Regions from separate parts of the Homo sapiens genome. Here region 2 is linked to region 1. Evidence: promoter capture Hi-C in human tissues and cell types (Jung and others, 2019). All regions are on one chromosome and are shown on one strand. The core of a region is centred on a gene start or on the middle of the fragment in contact, and the rest is flanking DNA. Distances in the headings are between cores, read along the strand shown.

Evidence for each region. The method cuts DNA at HindIII sites, captures the fragments that hold promoters and counts their contacts. A contact is called where the count stands out against the background at its distance.
Region 2: a contact is called between a fragment that was not itself captured here and the fragment with the promoter of CDH26 in region 1, in 1 of the 25 tissues and cell types used here (mesendoderm cells).

What each region holds. Positions count from the first base shown.
Region 1 is chr20:59,955,665-59,962,686 of GRCh38, forward strand. It overlaps CDH26 (cadherin 26), which reads left to right and starts at 2,759. Exons shown (of 18, transcript NM_177980.4): 1 at 2,759-3,131. The coding sequence starts at 3,063. The HindIII fragment of the contact is 5,804 bases long and covers 1-5,507 here.
Region 2 is chr20:59,825,584-59,832,605 of GRCh38, forward strand. All of the region lies in intron 8 of PHACTR3 (phosphatase and actin regulator 3), which reads left to right. Among named protein-coding and RNA genes, the nearest start is that of SYCP2, 100 kb to the right of the region's middle. The HindIII fragment of the contact is 5,468 bases long and covers 535-6,002 here.

The DNA.
Region 1 (7,022 bases), core at 1,509-4,008:
TTCTAATATATTAAAATACCAGTTCCTATGGTGTTTTTTGTTTTGTTTTGTTTTGAGATGGAGTTTCACTCTTGTTGCCTAAGGCTGGAGTGCAATGATGTGATCTCAGCTCACTGCAACCTCCGCCTCCCGGGTTCAAGGGATTCCCCTGCCTCAGCCTCCGGAGTAGTTGGGATTACAGGTGTGTGCCACCATGCCCGGCTAATTTTAAAATACCAATTTCTTTTAAACTTAAAACGAATGTGAAAGTGGAATCCTTCACTGTTGTCCCCCAGCTCCGCCCAGACTAGAACATTGTGAGGCTAATGCCTTTCTAGCAACAATATTTTAGTCCCCAGCGCTATTCTAGCAGCAGGGAGTGCTCAACTGACGTGGTTTTTTCACATATATTTAACATGGTTTAGCTCACCTGACTTATATATTCTAAATTAGTGATTCTAACTTAATCAGTTTTTTAAAAATAGGCTATCATTATAGAAATATCCACTTTGAAAATAGGCACAAGGTATTCAGTTTCTCTTTATGCACAGGAAATATCTATAGACTTTAAAGTTGTATTTATTATTCTTTTCAATAATAAGCTATTAATTTCAATAAAAATAAACTATTCAAATTAAAATATTCAGCAGCATCTCAGAGCTATGAATGTTCAGTTAAGCAAAGAAAGTTTTTTTTTTTTAATTGGGAGATTTTTATTTTATATTTTATTTTTGATGAGTTCTTTTTTATTTTTATTTTTTAATTTTATTTTTCCATAAGTTATTGGGGTACAGGTGGCATATTGGTTACATGAGTAAGTTTTTCAGTGGAGATTTGTGAGATCCTGGTGCACCCATCACCCAAGCAGTATACACTGCACCATATTTGTTGTCTTTTATCCCTCACCCTCTTCCCACTCTTCCCCCCAATTCCCCAAAGTCCATTGTATGATTCTTATGCCTTTGTGTCCTCATAGCTTAGCTCCCACAAATCAGTGAGAATATACAATGTTTGATTTTCCATTCCTGAGTTACTTCATTTAGAATAATAGTCTCCAATCTCATCCAGGTCACTGCAAATGCTGTTAATTCATTCCTTTTTATGGCTGAGTAGTATTCCATCATATATATCTGTATATACACATATATATACATATATATGTGTATATATATGTGTATGTATATATATACATATATGTGTGTATATATGTGTATGTATATATATACATATATGTGTGTATATATGTATGTATATATGTGTATATATGTACATACACATATATACACATATATGTGTATATATACATATATGCGTGTATATATGTACATACACATATATACACACATATATGTGTATATATGTACATACACATATATACACGCATATATGTGTATATATACATATAGATACGCATATACACATTTTCTTTATCCACTAGTTGATTGATGGGCATTTGGGTTGGTTCCACGATTTTGCAATTGTGAATTTTGCTGCTATAAACGTGCATGTGCAAGTATCTTTTTCGAATAATGACTTCTTTTCCTCTGGGAAGATACCCAGTAGTGGGATTGCTGGATCAAATGGTAGTTCTACTTTTGTTCTTTAAGGAATCTCCACACTGTTTTCCATAGCAGCTGTACTATGTTATATTCCCCCCAGCAGTGTAGAAGTGTTCCCTGATTGTCACATCCACACCAACGTCTACTGTTTTTTGATTTTTTGATTATGGTCATTCTTGCAGGAGTAAGGTGGTATCGCACTGCGGTTTTGATTTGCGTTTTGCTGATCATTGGTGATGTTGAGCATTTTTTCATATGCTTGTTGACCATTTGTATATCTTCTTTTGAGAATTGTCTATTCATGTCCTTATCCCACTTTTTGATGGGATTGTTTTTTTCTTACTGATTTGTTGGAGTTCATTGTGGATTCTGGATATTAATCCTTTGTCAGATGTATAGATTGTGAAGATTTTCTCCCACTCTGTGGGTTGTCTGTTTACTCTGCTGACTGTTCCTTTTGCAGTGCAAAAGCTCTTTAGTTTAATTAGGTCCCAGCTATTTATCTTTGATTTTATTGCATTTGCTTTTTGGTTCTTGGTCATGAAATCCTTGCCTAAGCCAATATCTAGAACAAGCAAAGAAAGTTTACCTTTTATTTTATCTGTTTACTACTTTAAACAAGGTAATGTGATAAAAAGGTCATGTTAAGGTAATCAGGGTTAATGTATCACAGATTGTGTTTTAAAACTTGCTTACTGCAACCTTAAGTATTGGTATAATATAATCTCAAATTGTCTCTTTCAGAATTCTCATGCAAAGACTCCCGGGTTGCCACAGAGATCCCTGTCCATAGGGAGGCTCTTTCCCATCTCTCCTCCCTCCCACTTTAATTCCAAACTCAAAAAGGCAGATTAATCTAAGCTTAAAAAAGGTTTTAGTAGAAATAATTTGAAAACCCCAGAGCCCTGGGATATTGTTGGAATAACGATTTTTAGTGCTTTGGAAAGTAAAAGTTGATTTTTCTTTTCTTTCATTCTTCCCCATCCCTTCCCCCTTAATAAAGTTATCATTCTTGTCATTTTCTAGTTTTTTTTGTTTGGTTCAAGAGGATAAGATTATAGAAAATAGTCACTAACATATCCTGCTATAGAAAGAGATGATTGGACCTTCTATTTGGAAACCAGAACAAACAAGGAAACAAAGAAACAAATAATTCTGCTTTCCGATAGGTGCTGGTTTTACTTCCGCTGGCTGAGCTGTTGTTCCTGAGGTCAGACCCCAGCCAGTCTTTTGTGTACGTGCAGGACCATGGTGGCTTTAGTTTCTACCCCACCCTTCCTAGGAACTCTACTTGTGGCAAACGTATGTTCAAGCTTACAAGTCAGCCCACCCCACTCTGATAAATGCAAGAAAAGCTGAAAAGGGAGGAGCAAGATGGGATGAAAGCATCTGGGCCAAAGTGACCTGAAAACCTTTAGAGAAGAAGCTGCTGGCTGAGAAGGAGGTGTGTGGCTCCGGTGAGACCACCAGCTTGGAGGACTGGTCATCAGCTGCACGTTCTGGGTCTGTCTTGGGTATTCCCATATGGCCATGAGATCCGGGAGGCACCCCTCGCTGCTGCTGCTTCTAGTGCTGCTGCTGTGGCTGCTGCAGGTAAGCTGAGCCTGCAGCCTAGTGCTCAGGTGCAGGGAACTGAAAGCAAAGCACAAGCTGGCCCTGCCCCTTCTAGGCTAAGGGAGGGGAGAGGGACTGAGTGTGACCTGCTGGGACCCAGGGCTGGCTGTCTTGAGAATGGCTTAGGTAGCAGGGGCTCTGGATTTATATAAAGGGAAGTTAAGGGTCCCAGTCTGTTTGGGGCAACAGTGGGAGCAGGCTAAGGGACCTGTTTAAAACTAATTTATATAGTTCACACTATTTTTAGTGAGATTACATCAACACACACGTGTTTTCTTTCTTTGTTTCTTTCTCCTTTTGTTGAGACAGGGTCTGGCTTCATCATCCAGGCTGGAGTGCAGTGGCATGATCAAGGCTCACTGCAGCTTTAACCTCCCAGGCTCAGGTGATCCTTCCACCTCAGCCTCAAGAGTAGCTGGGACTACAGTAACTTACCACCACGCTGGCTAATTTCTGTATTTTTTATAGAGATGGATTTTCACCATGTTGCCCAGGCTGGTCTCGAACTCCTAAGCTCAAGTGATTTATTCGCCTTGCCCTTCCGAAGTGTTGGGTTTACAGGCATGAGCCACCTCACCCAGCCAACACACACAATTTTTTTTTTTTTTTGAGACAGGGTCTCGTCATCCAGGCTACAGTGCGTGGTGACATCTCAGTGCACCGCAACCTCCTCCTACTGGGTTCAAGCAACCTCCTGGCTCAGCCTCCCGAGTACTGGGACTACAGGTGCACGCCACCATGCCCGGCTAGTTTTTGTATTTTTATTAGAGACAGGGTTTCACCATGTTGGCCAGGCTGGTCTCAAACTCCTGACCTCAAGTGATCTGCCTGCCTCAGCCTCCCAAAGTGTTAGGATGACAGGCTTGAGACACTGCGCCCTGCCAAGTTTTATAATGATACTTCTGTTCACACTTTACATAAGATTGAGGAAATCTCAGTTGTCTGGATCCAAGGCAATTTGAGCAAACCCATGGGGATGGAATGGCTAAATCCATTGCCCCCAACTGCCACTGTTTAAATGGGAATACAAACTAGTGGAGTCAGGATTCGAAACACATGGGCTTGCTCTGTTTGTACTTAGAGTGGACAGAGGTAATGTTGCATGCGCTTGTTGGTTATGATCTGCTTCGTTGGCTTTCTGTAGGTAGGGAGAGGGAATCATTTCTTCCTTTGAATACCAGCTGAGGGTGGGAAGCAGCCCAGTGGCTGGTAACTGTGAGCTCTGGACTGGGCTGCTTGGCGTCCTGACCTAGGCTCCTTCACAGCCCGCTGGGGACCTAGGCCAGCTTAACTTTGTTCCTTACCTTGGATCAAGTTGAACTTACCTAGGGAGCTTCAAGGGATCTCAGTGCCTGGGTTTTGCCCCCAAAGGTTCAGGTTGAGCTGACCTGGGAGTGCACTGGGTGTCAGTGCACTGGTTTTAACATAACCTTGTTAAGCCTATTTTTCTTCACCTGAAAATGGAGCTAGTAACTGAATTTATCTGAGCCAGTGGTTGTACCAGTGAATGAGGAAATGCGTAAAAGCCCTTGGTACTGCGAAAGTTGTCAGAATCAGAATGGAGTTCCTTATGTTAAAACACACACACACACACACACACACACAGGCACAAAGCCTGATATATAGACACAAAGAAGGTTATGAAAAGGGGGTTCTCACATTTGTAGGCTTGATAACTAAAACTATCACAAAAGCTCTGCAAAAATAACAACTTTGCACAAAGGCCGTTAAAACCTTACACAAAAAATACTTTTTCGAAGAAATCTTCCCAGCAACTTTTTGTGCAAACTCAGACCAGTGTCACCCTTCTTATTGATCTTTGTAGCCAAAGATAATTATTTCAAAACAATGATATAATCCTTCTCATTTTTTCCTTTGAAAACCTTTATCTCCCTTTACCTCCCTGACTCTGCACATCGTTTACCATGGCACACATATTCCCATGGATATGTCCTTGCCCAGACAAACGTCATCTTCTCTTAGAGAGCCTCTGTCTACTATTAGGTTCACAGTTCAGTAACGACCCAGCCGTTTTTCTAATCACAGTGAAAATGGTTGGCAATATTCATTCAGAGCTCATGCTAAAACTATTTACTGGATACCTGCTTTGGGCCAGGCACTGGGAATACACCAATAAACATAATAGGGGGAAAACCCTGTCTGAAAGTGGATAACTTGTTTGGTACCAGTTGCTTGAGGTTTGGAGAATTTTCTTGGTCACATTTTGCCATATCAAGAGTTACGAGTTTCCTTAGTCAGACAGCACATTAATTTGATCTCCAATACTTCACAGAAGTCCTTTTTAGTAGCCCATGTTTGCATGGATTTGAATATAGTCCAGATCAAATCCTGTCCCCATCCTTCCCTCACTCCTGCTCCTACCCACAATGAGTCTGATCAGGAAACAGACCTGAATTCTCTTCCCTCTGGCGTATTAGTGCAGTGCCAAAGCAAATTAATTGACTTCTGAGGGTGGTTGGGTGGGGGTGGGCAGTGGGAATGGGTCTGTGGATTGTACTTCAGTGATTGATGACAGCAGCTTTATGTAGATTCCAGGGAATCAAGACAGATGAAGAGAACATGATTCAATAGATGTAAGAAGTTTTTAGCAATCAGAATGCTGGACCTTTAACTCTTAAAGAGCTTTACACCTGGCAGGTGCTCAATAATTGTCAAATTGGCTATGAGTAACATTCCGTTCCATTCCTTTACATCCCCGCCCCCTGAATTGGCTTATTGCCATCTGTGACATCTATGACAGATACCTACTTCCCCCTGTTCAGATCTCCATATTTACAAGCTGATACCATTTCTGCTGGAGAGCTATTGTGTCCACAATAGTTTTCCTCTGAAATCCCCACACCCTTTCTTTGTCATTTGGCCATGAAGCCAAATCACCAAGTCAGGATTCTGTTCTGCAGGTTTATGTCTTTGTTCCAGGTTCAGTGACAAGTAATGACAAGCCAAGGAAGAGGAGTTTTCTCCCCTTTTGTCATTTCCAGGCCTCTGAGCTCATATGTCCTCACCTTGGGGCTGTGGCAGGCTTCAAAGACCAGAGAAGAGGGAAGTTTTAAGAGAATGAAACTGTACAATGAGAAAAGCCACTTATGATTTTTTGTTGTTGGTGGTGGTGGCGTTGTTACCAATCTGGGAAATTCTGAATTGAGTTACATTTTAATAAATTGTTAGCATTTATGCTCTGACTGAATTACTCTTTCAGCCCTTCATTTAAGACCAACAGAGTGATGGGTTGCAGAAGGTGGGGATAGTGTGGTCAGAGGTGAAGCTGAGAGGGTCAGCAGGGGACAGAGCAGGTTGGATTCTGTCCTAAGAGAAGTAAAAACACTGGGGGGAAAGGGGTGTGAGATCTGTGCTTTTAAAGATCACTCAAGCCTCTGTGCAGAGAATGTGTTAGGAACATATATTAGTGTCCTCAGACTGCTGAAACAATGAACCACAAACTGGTACGTCGGCTTAAAATAGGAGAAATGTACTCTCTTGCAGTTCTAGAAGTCAGAAGTCTGAAACCAAGGCGTCAGCAGGGCCAAAATCCGTCTGAGACTGGGAGGACCCTCCCTGGCCTCTCCCCAGCTTCTGGTGGGTTGCTGGCAATCCCAGCTGTTTCTTGGCTTGCAGCTACGTCACTCCAGTCTCTGCCCCTGTCATGACATGGCATCATCCCTTTGTGTCTGTGTTTTCCTATCGAGACACTGCTCACTAGATTAGGGCCCACTCTAACCCAGTGTGACTTCATCTTAACTGTAATTCAGTTAAGAATTACATCTGCAAATAGCCTATTTCCAAATAAGGTCCCGTTCACAGGTACTGGGAATTAAGTCTTCAATATACGCTTTTAGGGACACAATTCAA
Region 2 (7,022 bases), core at 2,019-4,518, 130 kb before region 1:
GCCATGAAGGCCACAAAATACACAAATGCACTGGGGAGCAACCTGTGCAGAAAGGAGCCAGTTACTTCAGCTGGAGGAGTCGGGGTGGGCTTTCTGGAAGAAGAGGTTTAAGCTGAACCATGGGGAGATCTGGGTAACAACTTTCTCAGCAGAGGGAAGGGCCCAGGCAGAGGCGCTGGGTGGGAATCAGCTTGGCATGTGCTGTGGTCTGAATGTTTGTGTCCTCCCCAAATTCATGTGTCACCCCCAGTATGATGGTGGTTGTACATGGGGCCTTTGGGAGGTGATTAGGTCATGAGGGTGCAGTGCTCTTGAGCGGGATTAGCGCCCTCAAAAAAGGGACCCCTGAGGGCTGCATTGCTCCCTCCACCATGTGAGGACACAGTGAGAAGATGCTGTCTCTGGGAAAGTGGGTCCTCCCCGGATGCCGAATCTGCTGGCACCTCAACCTTGGACTTCCCAGACTCCAGAACAGGGAGAAATGGATTTTTGTTGTTTATAAGACACTGAGCTTAGGGGACTGTGTTGTAGCAGCCGCGCTGGGCAAGGGCAGCTCAGCAGGTCAGCATGACCAAAGGAGGACAAGGTATGGGGAGGAGGGAGATCAGTGGGGTGGGGGAGGGGAGGGGTGCTCAGGGGCTTCGAGGAGGCTGGAGCTCTGCTCCTCAGCAGGTTGTCTCCCTCCAGGAATTCCCTGCCACAGGCTCGGGCCTCTGGGTCCTGGTGGCTGAGCACAGATCTTCGCTGAGTGTCCCTGGTCTGGGCCAATGTGGGGCCAGCATCTTGGTTCTTCCCAGCTGACTCAACCTGGGCTTGGCTCACCCTTGGCTGGGACCCAAGGAGGCCAGGCAGGGTGGTGGGGCCCAGTGGGGTGTGGGGCACATTCCTTCCAGTGCGCTCCCCTGCCCCAGCCTTACACCTGGCATTACAGGGCACATGCTGTCCTCACCCTGCCTCTCACACCTGCTGTCTCTGCACACACCCTCCTGGCCCTGCCTCTCACACCTGCTCTCTCTGTACACACTGTCCTCACTCTGCCTCTCATACCCACTCTCCCACACACTCTGTCCCTGCCCTGTCTCTCATGCCTGCTCTGCACACACAGTCCTGGCCCTGCCTGTTACGCCTGCTGTCTCTGCTTCCCTCTCTCACGTCCTTCCCTGCAGGGTGCGTCTCTCCCTCCTCTTTGCACACATGTTCTTGGCCTTTCTTCCTCACTCCACTTTCCTCCTTTCAAAAGTAGCATTGGCAGGGCTGGGTGTCACTGTGAATGACATTCTCTGCGTTACCTTGACTGTGAGAACAGAAAGTGCCTCTCTACAGGTAGATGCGAGTTTGGTCCTGAAAGTCAAGGGCCTGGTTTTCCTCCGGAGGATTTGAATCCTTCCCTCTCCCTGCTCCCCTCCCTTCTCTCCTTCCCTCCCTCCTTCCCTCCCATAGTTCTCAGGCACCAGGTGATTCCTCAGTACCTCTGAGAGTCCCCAGATGGAAGGTGACCTGGATGTCCCTTGGTGTCCATGTTGCTGTCTTTAGCACCTGGAAGAGGAGGTAGAAGGGGCATGTTCACGGTGGGGTTGGGGAAGCCTCTCAGGGCAGCCCGGGAACCATCCGGAGAGACTGGTGCTGGTGACCAGCTGGCCTTCATGGGCGGGGGTGCACGTGATCTTGGTGCCTCACCTGAGCCCTTGGAACACCCGGCTCCAGGAGGCTGATTGGAGGCGAGACCCCTCCCCACCACCACTGGGGCTGTTCCTGGTGCAGAGGGTGAAGGACTCATCTCATCTGTATCCCAGGGGCACTAACCCAACCCTGGGCAGGGCAGTCTAGAGTCCCTTTTTGGCTTAGGGTGGGCCACAGAGCCAGGCTGACAAAACAGAAATAGCAACAGTGATGGAGACAGTGCGGTGTGCAGCTTGCGGAGCCCAGGGCACAGCGGCCTGGCTAGCCCCCTCACATACGGCTCTCTCCTTTCAGTCTCACCAGGTGAGACCATGGAGGTGCAGAGAGGAGACTGGCTGCACCCAGGAGGTGGAGGACAAGAGACACTGGAGAGTCTGGGAGGCCAACTCCACGTACCTGGAGTTCTTTTCTGTGCTGCCCTGGGAGGGAGCCCAGGCTCCAGGGGACATATTTCTCCTGCAGGGTGGGGTTGGGAGGACAGAGTAGGCAGGAGCCTTTGGCCTGAAGGCTTGTCACTGTGGGCACAAGAGGCATGGGACACCTTCCCGACATCAGAAGCCCCCCACTGCACCAAGCTTGGCGGGGCTTCCTGGTGGAGTTGAAGTTGCCCTGCCTCCTATGCCCTCAGGACACAGGAGGCAGGCCAGCCGTTCTGTTGCCTTTTGGAAACTCAGGGCAGCTCTGTGGATTGTCACAGCAACTGGAGCTCCTGCTGTATTTTCAGGATGGTCCCGGGAGGCAGGTGTTCTGCAGCCATGGGGCACTCCCTTAGCAATGAAGACTGGCCCCCCATTCCACTTGACTTCTGAATGTCCCTGGGACACTCATGAGAGTCCGAAGCCTGTTTATGATGACCTGAGCCTCATCCCAAGTGCATTGTGGACACACACAGGAGGTATTTTGGTGGAGCTGTATTACAGGTGGCGTCTCCTGGAATGCAAAATGCCAGAAACCTCTCCCACAGATTGGGGAGGGAACCTTGCTTTGTCCAGAGCTTCACCAAGAAGCATTCCTCCACTAGTGTCTCTCAGGGCATGGAGTGACCAGTGTGGCAGCTGTGGGTCTGTCTGCATTGGTGGCTGGCACTGTGATGGTGATTTTTCTGTAGCGGCAGCATTGGCATTGTGTGCTGTGTCACCCAATCCAGCCATGCCTGGCACTTACTTACCTATCGGAATATGTGTTATTTGATTAAAACTTAATTTCCTTTTTCCTCCTTTATATTGCAGATAGGGTGTTATGTTGTTTTTTTGGTTATGCGTGTCAGGGATTTGGAGGAAAAGGGACAAGACAGAACAATTGTAATAATGGGGGTGTGTGGGGTACAGTGGGGCTGCGGACCCGTGTGAGGAGAAGGACATCTTTGCCGGACAGGGACAGTGTGAACAGCCACTTATTGGTAAATGCAGCTCGACGTGGGGCCATCACCCGGCATGGAGTTTTGGGAGGGGTGGGAGTAGGAGGGGCTGCTGGAGGGGTCACCGTAAACTGAAAGGCTTTGCTGAGGGCCTTGGAGTTTGTCCTGAGGATGGTGGGAACCCGGGCTTGAGCTCATCGTGGGAGTAGGAGTTAGAGTTATGCTGCTGTGGGCAGGGAGGTGGACAGTGTGGAAGTCTCCATCATCCAGGGCTGAGGCTTGTGGCCTGGATCAGGGAAGTGGCCTTGGGGATGGAGAGAGGCAGATGGATGGATGGACGGATGGATGGATGCAAGCAGAACCCAGCAGACTTGGAGCTTCCTGGGGTGTTGGACGTAGGGAGTAAGAGGAGCCAGTTCTCCCAGGGGTCTGGTGTGTGCCTGGGTGGTGGCTGGAGCCAGCCCCTGAGCCCAGGATGCTGGGCACGGAGCAGGTGTGAGGAGGTGGGGAACAGGGTGTGAAAAGGTCGGCTTTGGACTCAGAGTGCCTGGAGTCACATCCTCCCCGGCATCCCAGAAGTCAGGACTGCTGGCTGCTGAGATGGGGCTTGCCCCAGGCATGTGGACCAGCAGCCAGCACCTCTCAGCTGAGCCCTCAGTCGGCAGAACATCCCTGCTTGCTGTTTCCTAGTGTGGACACACTCCATCCCCTCTGCCTGGATGCCCATCCCAGGTCTTTCCCTGGGCGGTTTCTTTCATCATCCAGGCCTCATCTTATGGCCTGGAGAGTCCTCTTCTCTTCCTGAACTTCTCTCCAGACACACCCACATTGCTCTGACGCTCTGAGACATAGGGTCAATGTGCCTGTCATCCGTGCACCCAGATGGTGTGCGCCTGGGGGCAAGCAGACGAGACATCTGCCCCATTCACCATCAGATGTCTGAGGATGCATCAATGCGTCGTGTGAATGGTGTGTGGAGACGCTGCCTCGCTGGGGAATCCCATCTCCAGGCGGGGGCCGCCAGCTTTTCTCAGTGACTCAAGGCGGCTGTGGGGCAGGATTGGCATTCCCAGAAAGGAGCCTCCCAAAATAGCCCGGGCGTCCCCTGTGGGTGTCGAGCTGTCTGTTCTCTCTAGGAAGGCATTCTGCCTTGTATGGAAGGAATTGCTTCTCAATTTCTGCTCCACACTGAGGTGACTTTAGATGTTGATTCAAACCTTTTCTGTGACATCTGTGCTGGGGTGAGATCAAGATTTGGGGGATGTGCGTTTAGTGGGGCAGCCTGGCTGGGTGGGGCTTCATTGGGGAAGCAAAGCTTGGGGAGCTGGAACTATGCTTCTCCTGACCCCGTGTCCTTCCACTTCCTGAAATTACCTGCAGCCCCTGCTGCTGTGCTCATCATGCAGGAAGGCAGTCAGCTGAGCAGTGTGTGCAGAGGACGATTCAGAAACTGGTACAAACTTGGCACTGAGACGGCGTCTGATGGGAGAAGAGGGGGTGTCTGATGAAAGAGGCTATGACAGACAGGAGCATGTGCGTGTCTGGTGGAAGAGGGTGTGCGTGTCTGATGGAAGAGGGTATGAGTGTCTGATAGAAGAGGGCGTGAGTGTCTGATGGAAGAGGGTATGAGTGTCTGATAGAAGAGGGTATGAGTGTCTGATGGAAGCAAGTGAGTGATGGACAGTGTGAGTAGATGATGAAAGAAGGTGTGAGTATTTGATGGAGGAGGGTGTGTCTGATGGAGACGGTGTGAATGTCTGATGGAGAGAGCATGAGTGATGAAGAGGGTGTGAGTGTCTGATGGAGGAATGTGTGGGCATCTGATGGAGGAAGATGTGAACATCTGATGGAGGTGTGAATGAGCAGATGTTGAAAGAGGGTGTGAGCATCCGTCTGATGGAGGAGGCTGTGAGTGTCTGAAGGAGGAGTGATTCTTGGGGATCCAGGCCTGCAAGGAGGCGCTGGGCAGGATGGAGCCTGCAGCTCTGCTGGCTGAAGGTGGAAGAGACCTGGGCTCAGCACGCCAGGTGAATAATATCAGTGCTATAGTAGTAATGATGCCACCTATTTGTGTGTCAACCTCCTCCTGTATTTAGTGTTCTCGACTCTCCCAGCATCCCTGTGGGTTTTGTTGGCAGGTGTTCACCTGGGGAATCAGAGGCTCAAGTAAGGGAGGGCGTGACGCCATCACCCAGCTGGCAGGGGTCAGAGCTGGAACTGGAATCCTAGCTCTGTGCCAGTGCTGGGGCACCAGTGCTGACTGTGGAATAGACAGTTGACAGCCTCCACAGACCTGGAAATGTGGGTGGCACAGTGGCATCATGACTCCTGGAGCCTCTCCAGGCGTCCTGACTGTCCAGGCTGTCGGCGGTCTCATCAGCTCCACCTCTAGGCCCCTTCCTCCCCATTGTTTGTCCCCTGCTCCCTGTCTCCTCTGTGCTACTCACAGCACAGGGCCAGGTGTGTCGTAGGTGACTGCTACAGATCTGTCGTGTGAGAGGCACTCGGAACCAGGAAGTGCCTGTGGGGTCACCTGTTTGGCTGGTGCCCCCTTGGCCCCCAGAAATGACTCACATCCACACTTGAACATACAGACATCCTTTTCCAGGGTGTGTTGTGCTCGATACCTTTAATTCCTGTCTGCATTCCAGGGCCTGCCCAGCCTCTTCCTGGCTCCCCAGCCCAGCCTGGTCCTTCCGGCCTCCCTGTCATCCCCACCTCTCGTGTGTGCACAAGCAGGGACCAGGTAGGGAGACCGGCAGATGCTGCTCTCTGTCCCTGGGGTTTCTTTTCTTAGTGTTGCTCCCACACCCACGCGATGCTTTAATTAACTGCCACACTCAGGCTTTCTCAGTGGGGAGAGTCAGAAATAGACTGTGGCTTCCCCAGCTCCAGGCGGCACCAGGACGTCACCAGCAGCCCCATTTCTGAATCAGGAGTCTCAAGCAGCTGCAGAGGGTGGGGAGGTTTGGGGAATCCCACAGGGGTTCTACACCCCCACCTACCCCGCCCCACCCCTCTGCAGGGCCTTCTGCAGCTTCCAAAGCCCAGCTATGCTCCGGCCACGTCTCTAGCGGCTCCTCGGAGAGCAACTTGATACTGAAGCTCAAAGCCCAGGAAGCCCTGGCGGCATCCCTGCCCCAGCCAGGTCCAAGCAGGCTATGTAGTGAGGGAGAGGAACCGGCGCCCATTCCTTTGCTCCTCGACACAGGCTGCTCCCCTTGCCTGCGCCGGCTCTGGGGGTCTGCTCTCACAGAGCTTCATGACTCGTTCAACCTGACTGCCCTTTTCCTGGCCATGGTTCTGCCTAGAAAATTTCCTGGGCCACCCTGGCCTGAGTGGCGACTGTGTGTCAGGGCAGGGGTCAGCACACTGTGGGGCAGGGGTGGTGGCCTGTGATGCATGCCTCTGCCTGGGCCTGACTCTCTGTGCTGGGAGAATGCTTCCTGGGCCTCATCCCAGCTGTGTCCCTGCTGGCTAGTTCCTGCCAGCTGGTGTTGCCGGTGTTCCTCCCTGCCTCAGCCCTCCCAGCATCTGGAACTGGCTGTGGGTTCTGATTCCAGCTGTAGTAGCTGCTGATCACATTCCTCTCTCTGAGCCTCAAGGGTCTCGCCTGTAATGTTGGCAAAGTAATTGTCTGTCCTTGGCATCAGGCTCGTCACCATTTTTCCTTTTGGAAGCCCCAACTCTGCATGAAGAGTTAGCATAGCTTCAGGTAGCAGGTGGACAAAAGGGTATCTTTTATGTATACTTAGGGTAACAAGTATTAATTTGGAGTGTGGGGTGTTTTTGCTCTGTGGCCAACTTCTTCCCCAAGTCTTGAACACTTCAGGGGGCCCTCACAGGCCTGCAGCACACTTTGTCCTTGGTATCTGGTGGGGGTCTGGGCAGGTCCGTATCTCTTGGTAGTGGGTTCATCTCCATCTCTGTTGGACAGAAATCTGGAAGAGTCCGGAGAGTGTTTGCAAATGCAAATCTAGTCCTG